Linked DNA regions of Homo sapiens: regions 1 and 2 are each linked to region 3. Evidence: promoter capture Hi-C in 16 types of primary human blood cells and fetal thymus (Javierre and others, 2016). All regions are on one chromosome and are shown on one strand. Each heading gives the region's core, a stretch centred on a gene start or on the middle of the fragment in contact. The rest is flanking DNA. Distances are from core to core; before and after follow the strand shown.

Region 1 (4,641 bases), core at 1,297-3,796, 110 kb before region 3:
ATAAAAACCAGTATCAAATCAACTTTACTGATCAAGCTCTGCTTAGGATTCTGTTTCCTCCATTTTCTCTTTTCCATTTTATTTGTTCAACAGGAGAGTCACCAAAAAGTAGAGAGCAATAGAAGGAGGAGGAGAATAGGATTCACATGTATTGAATGTCTTTTATACACCAGGTAGCACTAAGCTCTTAACATATTTTATCTCATCTAATAGATACAACACTATGAGATGGAAATTATTCAGCTGCTGATATAATGGAGATCCCAAGAGATCAGAGTGACTTGCCCAGGGTCACAGAACCAGTAATAGACCTGAGTTCAAATTCTGCCTCTATGTGGCCCATAAGCCTATGCTCTTTGCATTGTAGCATATGTTTTATTTAAAACAGCCTTTCCCAATTATCTTTCCCAAAATTTAACAGATGTTAGGCACAAAAGGTTCCCTAGACAGATCTCTTTGGGAAATGCTGGGTTAAACACAGTAAGTTTTCTTACTACAGAATTTCTCAGTGCCTTTAATATGGACGTACACCTTGTGATCCTCCATGAGAGAGTGTGCTGCATTTCCTAACTTCACTGGACATGGAAACTTTTTCCATCCAACTGGCAGAATCAGAGTTCCGTGGGGCCTACTTTGGGGAAATCCTGCACTGAAACAACAGGAAAATGGTCAAGAGACAGGAAGAGGCATTTTCACCTTGGAGAACGCTCACATGACTGATAAATATATGAAAAGATCCTCATCTTCATTAGTAATCAGGGAAATGTAAATCAAATCCATGAGACTGGCAAAAATTAAGAAATCTGAAAATACCAAGTGTTGGGGAAAAGATAAATTAATAAGAACACATGTGGCCGGGCACAGTGGCTCATGCCTGTAATGTTAGCACTTTGGGAGGCCAAGCTGGGTGGGTCACTTGAGGTCAGGAGTTCAAGACCAGCTGGGCAACATGGCAAAACCCCATCTCTACAAAAAAATACAAAACTTAGCCAGGCATGGTGGCTCACACCTATAGTCCCAGCTACCTGGGAGGCTGAGGCAGGAGAATTGCTTGGACCCAGGAGGCGGAGCTTGCATTGAGCCAAGATCGTGCCACTGCACTCCAGCCTGGTGACAGAGTGAGACTCCGTCTAAAAAAAAAAAAAAAAAAAACCACGTACGTTGCTGGTGGGAGTGTAAATTGGTATAACCATTTTGGAAAATAATTTGGCATTGTCTCAAACAGTTGATTGTTCATATGCTCTGTCACTAGCAATTCCAGCCACTCCTAATTACAAGCTTTAGTCAGGATACATATTCAAACATGTTTATAGTAGCACAGTCCATAATAGCAGAACTGAAAAACAACCCAAATGAGCCATCAAAGTTGGAATTGGATAAACTGAGATATATTCATGTGCTGAATATATGATACAGCAGTGAAAATGGGCGAACTACAGTGAAATACAACAATATGGCCAAATCTTAGAAATTTAAAAATTGATTAAATTAGAAATGGAATTTGGTGACAGGGCTTAATTTTGCTTGACTAGGTTCCTCTTATTGCCAGGGTAAGTGGTGAGGGAGACAGAGCCCACTTGAGGGTTTCTTTCCCCATCAGCAGCATCAACTGTTTTGAAACCACATACAGCCAATAATCTCAGCTCCTGCCAATAATCTCAGCTACTTGGGAGGCTGAGGCAGGAGGATCAATTGAGCCCAGGAGTTCGAGGCCACGGTGAGCCAGGAACTCACCACTGCACTTTAGCCTGAGCGACAAAGAGATAACCCATATCTTAAAAACAACAGCAACAAAACAACAAACAAACCAGATACACGTGAAACGTCAGCCAACAGGGTGGTAGATTAATCTCACTGGTTTGGGCCTGGGTCCTGTGCCATGTACTCACGTTTTGATTTTTGGCAAGTCACATAATCTCCTTGGCCCTCGTTTTTGTTAGTGAAAAGTGGAGATAAGATCTGTCCCGGCTACTTGACTGAGCTATGGAGGAATCATGTGCAATTTGGAAGTGCTCTGGAAAGTATACTCTGGTCATCTTACAGGTATAGAGCACCGTCATCTTTATGGTTTCCTCTGCAGAGCCGCTTCCCAAAGAGTTGTTCAAGCACCGCCTTTTCAGAACACTCTCAGCTCGTGCTCTTCTGGGTAGTGCTGGGTCAGGAGCCTCTCATACTTTCACAAAGGACTTTTTCTGCCTGGAGGTCAGGTTTATGAGTGCAGCACATGAAACATGAGCTGGCCCAGGTTTCTCCATTTCAGTTAGATGTGCATCTAAAGAAAGAGAATCTAAAAGAAAAGCAGTCACAGTCCCTAAATCATACACATAAATTTAGGTGTGGAAGAAGGAAACAGTCCATTAAGCTGAAAGAAGAGCTGTTGGTCTGCCGTGTGTTTTGCACAAACTCAGACATGGCTGGACACCTTCCTCTAGGACCTTAGAGGCCAGAGTTGTGACACATCCTAAGTGGCTGGACTCCAGCTTCACTCACAGCACACGTGGGCAGGAACGAGGGAGCAGGCCATGTCAGCTGCCTGGACGATGCCTGAGACCTGACAGCTCTGTGCCTTGCCTGCAGCTCAGGGCATCAGGGTTCTCCCACTTCACTTGGAAATGTCAGGCAATGACTGGCCCGGGCTCTTGGTTTGCTAAAGAGGGGGCTACTCCTGGCCACATTTTCCCTAGAGCAAGATTCAGCGTTTGACCTTTTGGGATCTTGTGGTGAGGACCTTAAAAATAGGATCCTAATGCATCAGGAAATTCATGAGAACCCCTACCTCTCCACCTGCTTCTCTTTTCCAAACATGCTTTCATTCTCTAGACATCCCTTCTCCAAGTGAGAATTTCATAGCTTTTAGCAAATGCATTGATTGTTGGAAAGGACAAGCAGATTAACATTTGATGGGAACAGGTCCTTGTCTCCTCATTTGTAGACAACCCTAACACTTGCTCTGATATTAGTGCTGATTACTACCCTGAATGTAGTGTTTTGTTTCTCTTCAAATAGTGCTGGCACTGAGTCGGGATTTGTGTGTGTGTTTAGATGCCAGTCTCCTCGTGGGTCTGAATTACCACCTTCACCCCACTCCCATCCCACCCCCAGTTTTCTCTACTAACCTATTTTTCTTTTTCTTTTTTAGACCAATGATGCGAGCTCAGAGTCAATAGCATCCTTCTCTAAACAGGAGGTCATGAGTAGCTTTCTGCCAGAGGGAGGGTGTTACGAGCTGCTCACTGTGATAGGTATGTGCAGGGGCCGTCCTTACTCTCCTGCTTTCTGCTCCAGGGGCTGCTGCAGCTTTCTCAGCAGCCCCAGATGTGTGTACAGCAGAGGCCATCCACTAGTTAGGAGGATTCATGGGCACAGACTTGCTTCTGTGGGTCTTCTCTGTTTTTTTATGCCAAGTATGGGAAGAGATCAAACTTCCAGGAAAGAAGCTCTTTTGCCATCTTTCCTTTGTGGCTGCCATGTTTCCGGTGTCCTGGCCATAGTGAGTCAGAAAGGTTGGCTGAGAAGGAACTGATGAGAGAAAAATCAAGAAATGTGAGCCATGAACATAACAGTTAAATTCTGCTGGGAAAAGGAAAAAAAAAAAAGTAACAGTAGTGAAAAATTTAACATTAAGTTTCTTTTGAAATCAAGTCCCTTTTTTAAAGGAAAATTTTCTTAAAACCTTTTGTTGTTCTTGTCCTTGCGTATGGCATTCCCTTTTTCTTTTAGGCAAAGGATTTGAGGACCTGATGACTGTGAATCTAGCAAGGTACAAACCAACAGGAGAGTACGTGACTGTACGGAGGATTAACCTAGAAGCTTGTTCCAATGAGATGGTAACATTCTTGCAGGTAATAAACCATGAGTGTGTCACATGGAGGGAGGGTGGGCTCTTGGCTCTGATAGGAATTACAAGGAATTACAAAGAAATGAAGGGAGACTAAACGTTCGGAAGTTATGGAAGCTTTCAGTGGAGAATCCTGGCCATTTGGCACTAAGGATTGGGCTGAAATGCTGCTCAGCCTAATTTATATTTCCCTTTTCTTCTCCAAACACTCCCTTCTGGCTTTTTTATTCATTTATTTATTATTTAGAAAGAAGCTAAGTAACTTGCTCATGGCAGAGGCAGGATTCAAACCCAGGCCATCTTGTTCCAGACACAAGGTGCCTGCCCTGCCACCAGTGGCCATCTTCTGGCTCTCAGCCTCCTGTTTGCCTGATGTTCCTTTCTTTTTCTTTTCTTTTTTTTTTTTTTTGAGACGGATTCTCACTCTGTCACCCAGGCTGGAGTGCAGTGGCACGATCTCGGCTCACTGCAACCCCCACCTCCCAGGTTCAAGCGATTCTCCTGCCTTAGCCTCCCGAGTAGCTGGGACTATAGGCGCACACCACCATGCCCGGCTAACTTTTGTATTTTTAGAAAAGACGGGGTTTCTTCATGTTGGCCAGGCTGGTCTCAAACTCCTGACTTCAGGTGATCTGCCTGCCTTGGTCTCCCAAAGTGCTGTGATTACAAATGTGAGCCACCGCATCTGGCCTCTTTTTTTTCGAGACAGGGTCTCATTTTATTGCCCTGGCTGGAGTACAGTGGCAGGACCACGGCTTACTGCAGCCTTAACCTCCTGGGCTCAAATGATTCTCCTGCCTCAG
Region 2 (4,149 bases), core at 1,626-4,125, 110 kb after region 3:
ATAAGGGAACAGTGGGCCTTGCTATACCCAGGGCAGACCCCAGCACTGCAGCATGCAGGGGACACAGCACTGTGGGGAGGGAGGGGAAGGGCAACCACTGAGTGTGCGTAAGAGGGAATCTGGGGGCAGAAGCCCCTAGCATCGGGCCGTTCAGGCCATTCCTCTGCCTCCCATTTTCCTGAATGACTCCAGCCCCCACCACCTGTTGCTTTCTGACTGTACAAAGTGCTTGCTCTAGAGGCACTGGGACATTGTGTACTTTCTAGAGAATGTGTGGCCAGTGGGTTCCCATGTACACATGCTTTATCTCCCAAGATGGAGGCTCCCTGAAGGAAACAACTGTTTCTGTCAGGGGTGAGAGTGGGCGATTCTGCATCTCATGCGGCCCAACAGCGACAAACTTATTCACCCCAAGAATTCTTATGGCCAGGATGAATGGCAGCTGCAGAGCTGCCCAAACCAGAAGGTTCTACCGTCTCTCGTCAGTCCTTCCTTGTTCTCATTTACTTATTTATTTTTTATGAAATGGGGTCTCGCTATGTTGCCCAGGATGGTCTCGAACCCCTGAGCTCAAGCAGACCTCCTGCCTCGGCTTCCCAAAGTGCTGAGATTACAGGTGTGAGCCACCGCACCCAGCCCTTCCTTGTTGTTTAGCAAACCAATTCAAACTGCGGGAAATTCTCTCTTGGATCTAACTGGAAGCCTTTTGGCTCAGGTGAATCCTGTTTTTCTGTCATTCTCATCGGGGAGGGGGAAGGAAGAGCTGCCCAGCATCCTGGCCACAAGGCTGGGGATCTATCCAGCTTCTCCTCTGACTCCCCATAAAAGGGAAGACCCCACAAGGGCTCTCATCCCCCAGATCCTGTCTCCTCTCAGCCCTGTGGCTGAGTCCTCATGCCTGGAAGGGCCTGCACAGCCCAGGGAATCCCATCGGGTTTTGTTTCAGGCTCCCCGTGTCTGTTCTCCTTGTAAGAGACACTTCTTCAGCTGTGACAGATGGTCTTTGCCACTTCTCCCAAGTGGGAGGGACTTTTTTCTCTTCTCTTGAATCTGGGTGAACTTGTGACTTGTTCTAGCCAATAAAACATGGCAGAAGTGACTCTGGGCCAGTTTTGGACCTAGCCTTGAGAACTGGCTGCGTCAGTAGTTGCTGTGGGGGATGCTGGCTGCCAGGTAAATCTGCCCACCTCAGATTCCACGCTGGGAGGGCGCCCGAGCTAGCCTGGAGAGATGCCTGACCCACCTCCAGCCGTTCCAGCCATCTCACCCCAAGCACCCAACATGTGAGCCAAGAGGCCACTGGGAACATGTGCCCCAGCATCTGCCACATGGGAAAAACCGAGGACCTCAACCGACAGCCAGAACTGGGGCTCTGGACGTATGGCCCCCATTGAGCCATCCCGGCTGTGAGAGCTGCCCCCAACAGAGGGGGCCCTGTAGAGAAAGGCCATTTCCACTGTGTACTGCCTGAATTCCTGGCACATAAAATCATAAGCAAAATCAACTGGTTGTTTCGTAAGGCTAAGCTCTGGGGTGCTTGGTTGCACAGCAATAGGTAACTAAAACGCCATCCTCCAAGGAAGGCAGCTTCTGAGCCTGTCAGGGGTGAGAGTGGATCTGTACAGAGCACCCAACATCCTCGTGTGCCTCCCTGTGTCACAGCATGTGCCCCCAGGGAGAGGCCAGCTCCATGCAGGGGCTGCTCCCAAGGAGGGACGCGGGGCAGCCTACCATGCTCAAACCCAGGACTGGGACCTTGAGCACTTCCCAGCGGCCAGGCTGACAGAGCTGTTGCGTGCTTCAGAAGTCCCCATCAGGCGGATGGGGTTTTCCTGCCAGAAGCCAACACCTCTCTAGACACTCAGTCCCAAACTCTGGCCCTGTCCCCATCCTGCCCTGCTGGCTCCAGCTGGGGGACAGTAGTGGACCCTTTGCTTGGTTCATTTCCCTTGCCCGTGGGGCTCAGGAACGAGACCTGAGCCCTAGCTGGATGTACCGGAAGTCCTTGCCGTTGTAGAAGTCCCAGGCCGAGGCGTGGCAGACCACCTCCCGCCCGTCGGTTGGCTTCTCCAGCATCGACTTGTTCCAGAACTCAGGAGGCACGGGCAGCAGCCCCAGGGAGGTGAAGAAATCATCAGCCTCCTTAAACATCCTCCTGGGCGTCCAGCCCTGCAAGCAGAGGGAGTTCTGCCCAAACTGGGGGTTCCGGGGACAGACTGCGTGCTGCCGTGGGGATCCCGGGGGAGGGCTAAACTGGAGGGAACTCCTGAATCAGAGGGTCCCTCCCATCCCGGCGGGGCCTCCCTGCCCCTGGGCTGGTGCGGACCTGCTTTAGCATAGCCTCTGTGGTGTCCATCGAGGGGGCTGAAGGGAAGGGCACCACCAAGTCATAGATGTTGGACCAGGTCTGCGCCCACATGTTCCCTGGAGGCGAGTGTGGGGGACGGCAGAGAGAGGAAAGACAAATGTTACTTAGGCTCAATGCCCTCCTGCAGGAAGAGCGCTCCAGATCCCAGTCCTGCTAATCATAGTGGCATTTCTTGAGCACCTACTGTTTGCAAGCTTTGAGGCACACATCATCTTTGGTGTGCATATCCAGCCCAGTAGGTCATTACTGCCTGGCTCTAGGTGGGGGCCTTGCTGGTTATCAGGGAATCCAGGTGGTCTTCACTGTCCGTGAGCAGTGGAGACCAATGTGACTAGCAACTGCTGACATGTGAGGACATTACAGGTCCCCAGAACACCTACACCCCGGTGGCCACCTCTTATTGGCTCTGCACCAAGAACATTGTGTGAATTCACTTTCAATCCTGTCTGCACCCAGGTACTGTCACGATTCCCATTGGCTAGTAAAGGAAACAGGCTGGAGAGTTAAGTGACCGCCCCCCTCGCCGGGGGCCCACGGCTCCTAAGTGGCAGGGCTGGGATTGAAAGGCTGGCAGGCTGCTCTCTTCACCAGCCACTCTGCCATGTCCCCTCCGCACCACCTGAGGTCGGTGTCTGCAGCTCAGCAACTCTGACAGGAACCAGCCGTCTCCTTCAGGAGAGGCTGATGCCTCTGAGTTTAGTGTAAGAAAAGAGCCTAGTTCTCCACGACAGAGGAAAAGGAAGAAACTCAGGATGAATGGAAGGCTCAGAAACAGATTTGGACTCAAGGCTCTTTCCTAGCCAAGTGAGGTGAAGCTTCGGCTGACATCAGATGAAGTCTAAAGTGCAAACCAGTGAGAGAGGGTTAGAGCGATGAGTGATGGAGAGAACATGAGAGAGAAGAGGGAGAGAGCCAGGGAGAGAGCCAGAGAGAGAGACAGAGAGCGCATCAGTGTTAGGTTGCTCCCCTTTCCCCTTTTACCAATTGTCAGGGGCTGAGTTCTAAGGCCAGCTCTGCCCCAGCTCCCAGGCCACGCTGGGCATGTTGCTTTTCTTCCCGGGGCCTGTGTCTCCCAGTTGGTGAACTGACGTCCACTGTGACATCACCAGATGTTCTTTGGTCTCACCAGAGAGGGGCTGAAGAGGGCTGGACTCCCAGCCTGTGTGGGAGCTAGACCCACAGCCAGGCCGTCCTCTGGGGCCTCCCTTATAGTTTCTAAATGGTCTGAGGGCCTGTCTGGTCTCTCTGCTCCAGGAAAGTGTTCCTAACAGCCCATCAGGGACAGAGAACCAGTAGCCTCTGCTTTGCCTTACTCCCTACCATCCCTTACTGTCCTCACCGCCTACTTCACACATTCAGGGCATCTGAGATTGCAGCCCTTGGCAAAGGAGGGTCCAGGGTTGAAGTAGATTTACATTCTCAGGTTCTTCTTTGTTCCAGTTCCCTTGGCCTGAACACTGCGTCTGTCCTCTCATCCCCCACTTCCCATCTGTCAAACCCTGTCATCTTCCGAGGCCCTGCTCACAGGCCACCTCTTGGCAAAGCCTCCCCAGCTCCCACTCACAGCCTCTTCCTCGCCCTCTAAGATCACACAATGTTGTGATGGGTGCCGTGGTCTCCTGGACAAGATTATTAACTTCTTCCCCCATCCATGGTGACTTGCCCGACATAGATCTGCAGTGAATGTGGCACCAGATGCAAGTGGGGGGCTCCCCACTCCCAGCGCCCACCCCCCTCCAGCCTGGGCAACCATCCCCCACAGGGCTGGAGTCTCTCAGTCC
Region 3 (4,344 bases), core at 709-3,208:
TAAACACAAGTTGGTTGAACTTCATTGGGATGCAGTGGCTGATACCTGCAATCCCAGCACTTTGGGAGGTGGAGGTGGGTAGATCATTTGAGGTCAGGAGTTCGAGACCAGCCTGGCCAACATGGTGAAACCCTGTCTCTATTAAAAATACAAAAAAATTTAGCCAGGCATGGTGGTGCACACTTGTAGTCCCAGCTACTCCGGAGGCTAAAGCAGGAGAATCACTTGAGCCTGGGAGGTGGAGGTTGCAATGGGCCAAGATCACGCCACTGCACTCTACCCTGGGTGACAGAGTGAGACTCTGTCTCAAAATAAATAAATAAATAAATAAATAAAAGTTGCTTGAACTTAATATCAAGAATTTTGAAGAAAAGGAAGCAAACAAATACCAGGCATGAGCTGAGGGGGTAAATTAACATTAACTGAATGCCTATGATGTGCCATAAACCATAAACTACCTCAAGGTGGGTATTATCCTTGTTTCAGAGAAACTCAAGTTAAGCTACTTGTTCAAGGTTAGTCAGTGACAGAAACCAGTCTTCCTGACTCCAAAGTCCACAGTTTCTCTCTCTTTTTTTTTTTTTTTTTTTGAGATGGAGTCTTGCTCTGTCACCCAGGCTGGATGGAGTACAGTAGAGCAATCTCGCTTACTGCAGCCTTCAACTCCTGGGTTCAAGCAATTCTCCTGCTTCAGCCTCCCGAGTAGCCAGCATTACAGGCATGCACCACCATGCCCAGCTGTTTTTTTTTTTTTTTTTTTTTGTTATTTTTAGTAGACACAGGGTTTCCCCATGTTGGCCAGGCTAGTCCTGAACTCCTGACCTCAAGTGATCTGCCTGCCTCTGGCCTGGGATTACAGGCTGTGCCACTGCGCCCAGTCCAAAGTCCATGCTTTCTACAGGACTTTTCCTTTGCTCCTACAGATGTCTGGCCCTAAACAGAAAAAAAGCCTTTTCAGTGTGGCGACCTAAGGGAGAAAAGACATGGCTGCAAATCTACCTTCCAAGGAAATGTGTCTTGGGGAAACATTAATGAAGCAAACTAAGGCCTAAGCTAAGGCCTAAGCACTTAAGTAATAGCTTTACTCAGTGCCCCTGCCACAACCAATAAGGTACTTGAGGCGACTTCAGAGGGGTTGATTTGTCTCTTCAGGAGAGACACACATCTGCCCTGACTCTTAGGGCTTGTTTCTATTAAGTACCCAGCTAGATTAGGATGAAGTCACTTCTACCTTACCGGCTTATCTTCTTAAGAGCAGCTCCCTCTCTGACAAACTGGCCAGATGCTCAGCGTCTGGAAAAGTGAGTGAGAACCTCCAACGTAGGGTAGGTGTTTTGAGGATTTATGAGGTGGGCAATGGTGGGTACTGGGGAAGGAAAACAAAGTGAAGGGCCGGAGATCTAGGTGGGCCCAATTCCGAGAGGCAAGCGAGGCTGCGGGCACTGAGAGGGCAGCGGCAGCCAGTGCTGGGTGACCGTCAGGGTCTCACCTTTCACTGCCAGGCGGATGTTCAAACAGAGTTTGGAGAAGATGCGACTCCTTTCGACGTCCTTCGGACCCTTGATGTGCCTGACTTTGGACCACTTGTTGTGCCCGGCGGGGACAGCCGCGGTAAAGTGCAGCGTCCTGCCCGGAGCGGCACCGCAGCCCCGGGGCTCGGGGTGGGAGGGCCGGGGGTCGCGCGGAGGAGCCGCCCTGACCCCGGGGCCTCGTGCCAGCAAGCATCGGGCAGCGGCCCTGCTTAGGCTGGCAGCAGCCCAAGCCGACATCGGTCCCGACCCTGGGGTTCAAGCTGCTAGCAGCAGCGGCCAACGCCGGCGCGTCTCTTCCACTGCCGGAACAAGCAGTTCCGGACCCCGCGGCCGCCTGTGCCGGTCACCTGAGATCCAAAGGCTTGGGCCCGCCCGGGGCGGCTCAACAGCTAATGACCCTACACTGTCCCCGCGGCACCCGGGACTGGGGGCCCTTGATGGCGTAGCACACTTCCTTTACCGGGTTCGCTCCAAAAACACGTCCCCACTGCCCGCAAAGTCCGTTCCGTGGCTGCACGGTACTCGCTCCTCTCTTGCCCTTGAGCAGATCTAGTTAGTGCTCAAGCCCTCACGGTTGCCTAGAGAGCGCCGGACTTTGTTTCTCATAATGTTTTAGTGGAGACACATCTGAGTTATGAAACTGACTTTGCTTCCAAATTGCTGCCTAAATCTGAGCAAGTCCAGAATGATATTTTGTTGTTGCCTCATTGTACTGGGAAAGAAACTGCTGCCAGAGAAGTGAATTGCCCAAATGTTTAATCTCTCTGAACGTCTTCCCTATTTATAAATAAGGATCTAATATTTGCTTTATCAACATAGGAAAGTTAGAAACACAAAATGAGCCCTTAGAGCTTTAAAGTAATAAAGTTTTATGTAAATAGCCACAGTGCACTTAAGCCCCTAGATGCAAGAGATGGTTTGGGACAGACTCAGATGAGTCACAGGCCTTTGGGAGAGGGAGAATGATCAGACAAGCCCTTTGGAGCTAAACTCCCCTCTTCATTTTCTCTCTGCTGTCTCGAAAGAGAAAACCGAATCCGTTAGAAGATGGAGAGAAACAAAGCGGCAGCTGCTGAAAAGCTTTGTAGTGACTCCCATGCTGGTGAGATTAAGTCCAAAGGGCATGACATATCAGGTAGAGAAGCAGGACAGCCGGGCGCGGTGGCTCACGCCTGTAATCCCAGCACTTTGGGAGGCTGAGGCAGACGGATCGCTAGGTCAGGAGTGCCAGACCAGTCTGACCAACATGGTGAAACCCCGTCTCTACTAAAAATACAAAAAAATTAGCCGGCCGTGGTGGCGCGCGCCTGTAATGCCAGCTACTCAGAAGGATGAGGCAGGAGAATCGCTTGAACCCGGGAAGAGGAGGTTGCAGTGAGCCGAGATCGCGCCACTGCACTCCAGCCTGTGCGACAGAGCGAGAATCCAACTCAAAAAAAAAAAAAAAAAAGAGAGAGAGAGAGAGAGAGAAGCAGGACAGTGTGAAGTCCAAGTTTGTGCCCTCTGCAGTTAGACTGGGTGGCTTCAAACCCTGGTTGTTCCATTTTCTAGTGTATCCTTGGGCAAGTTCCTTTACTTTCCTGTTTCAGTTTCCTTACCATAGAATGGCCTTGTGAGGACTAAATGGGATAATGGATGCAAAGCACAAAAGCATAGATTTTTTATTTTTTATTATATAAGAACCTCCATGGGGCTGGGTGCGGTGGCTCACGCCTGTAATCCTAGCACTTTGGGAGGCCGAGGCTGGCAGATCACTTGAGGTCAGGAGTTCAAGACCAGCCTGGTCAACATGGTGAAACCCCGTCTCTACTAAAAATACAAAAATTAGCCAGGTGCGGTGGGTGCCCATAGCCCTTCATACATGCTTGCACCTTAGCACTTACCTTTTAAAAAAATATCAAAATGTTTATATCTGTTTCTACCGTAATACTAAATTCTCTGAGAGTAGGACTGTACTTCCTATGCCCAACACAGTTCTCATTTTTTAAAAAATTAAGTTTTGACATATTTCACAGATCACACAGATCACCAATTCAAAGTGTACAATGTGTTATAGAATATTCAGAGCTGTGCACAATTGATTTTACATTTTCATCATCCCCAAAAGAAGTCCTGTACCCATTAGCAATCATTCCCTATTTCCCCCCAATTCCCACAGCCCTAGGCAATCACCAATTTACTTCTGTCTCTGTGGGTTTGCCTCTTCTGGACATTTAATATGAATGGGCCCACACACTATGTGGCCTTTGGTAACTGGCTTCTTTCACTTAGCATGATGTTTTCAGGATTCTTGCATGTTGTAGCATGTATCAGTATTTCATTTCTATTGCCAAATAATATTCCATTGTATGAATATACCACGTTTTATTTATCTGTTCATCAGGCAATGGACATGTGGTTGTTTCCACCTTCTATGATGAATAATGAGGCTGTGAACATTCATGTACACATTGCTGTGTGGACCTATGTTTTCACTTCTTTTAGTTATATACCTAGGAGTGGAATTGCTGGGTCATATCATAACTATGTTTAACCTTTTGTGGGATTGCCAGACTGTCTTCTAAAGTGGTTGTATCATTTTACATTCCCACCAGCAATATATGAGGGTTTAATTTCTCCATATCATGAATTTTTTTTTTTTTTTTTTGCTTTGTTACCCAGGCTAGAGTCCAGTGGAGCAATCATAGCTGACTGCAGCATAGAACTCCTGGGCTCAAGTGATCTTCCCATCTCAGTCTCCCAAGTAGATGAGATTACAGGTGTGAGCCACTGGCTAAATTTGTTATTCTTTTTGACTATAGTTATCACCATC

The links. The method cuts DNA at HindIII sites, captures the fragments that hold promoters and counts their contacts. A CHiCAGO score of 5 or more calls a contact.
Region 1: a contact is called between a fragment that was not itself captured here and the fragment with the promoter of TACO1 in region 3, in 1 of 17 cell types (non-activated CD4 T cells). The highest score is 5.0, in non-activated CD4 T cells.
Region 2: a contact is called between a fragment that was not itself captured here and the fragment with the promoter of TACO1 in region 3, in 1 of 17 cell types (endothelial precursors). The highest score is 9.5, in endothelial precursors.

What each region holds. Positions count from the first base shown.
Region 1 is chr17:63,712,607-63,717,247 of GRCh38, reverse strand. It overlaps STRADA (STE20 related adaptor alpha), which reads left to right. Exons shown (of 13, transcript NM_001003787.4): 5 at 3,140-3,242; 6 at 3,721-3,842. Among named protein-coding and RNA genes, the nearest start is that of LIMD2, 15 kb to the right of the region's middle. The HindIII fragment of the contact is 2,532 bases long and covers 1,281-3,812 here.
Region 2 is chr17:63,489,229-63,493,377 of GRCh38, reverse strand. ACE (angiotensin I converting enzyme) reads right to left here. Exons shown (of 25, transcript NM_000789.4): 18 at 2,327-2,424; 19 at 1,997-2,169. Among named protein-coding and RNA genes, the nearest start is that of ACE, 14 kb to the right of the region's middle. The HindIII fragment of the contact is 621 bases long and covers 2,565-3,185 here.
Region 3 is chr17:63,598,509-63,602,852 of GRCh38, reverse strand. It overlaps TACO1 (translational activator of cytochrome c oxidase I), which reads right to left and starts at 1,958. Exons shown (of 5, transcript NM_016360.4): 1 at 1,490-1,958. The coding sequence starts at 1,769. The HindIII fragment of the contact is 11,259 bases long and covers 1-2,614 here.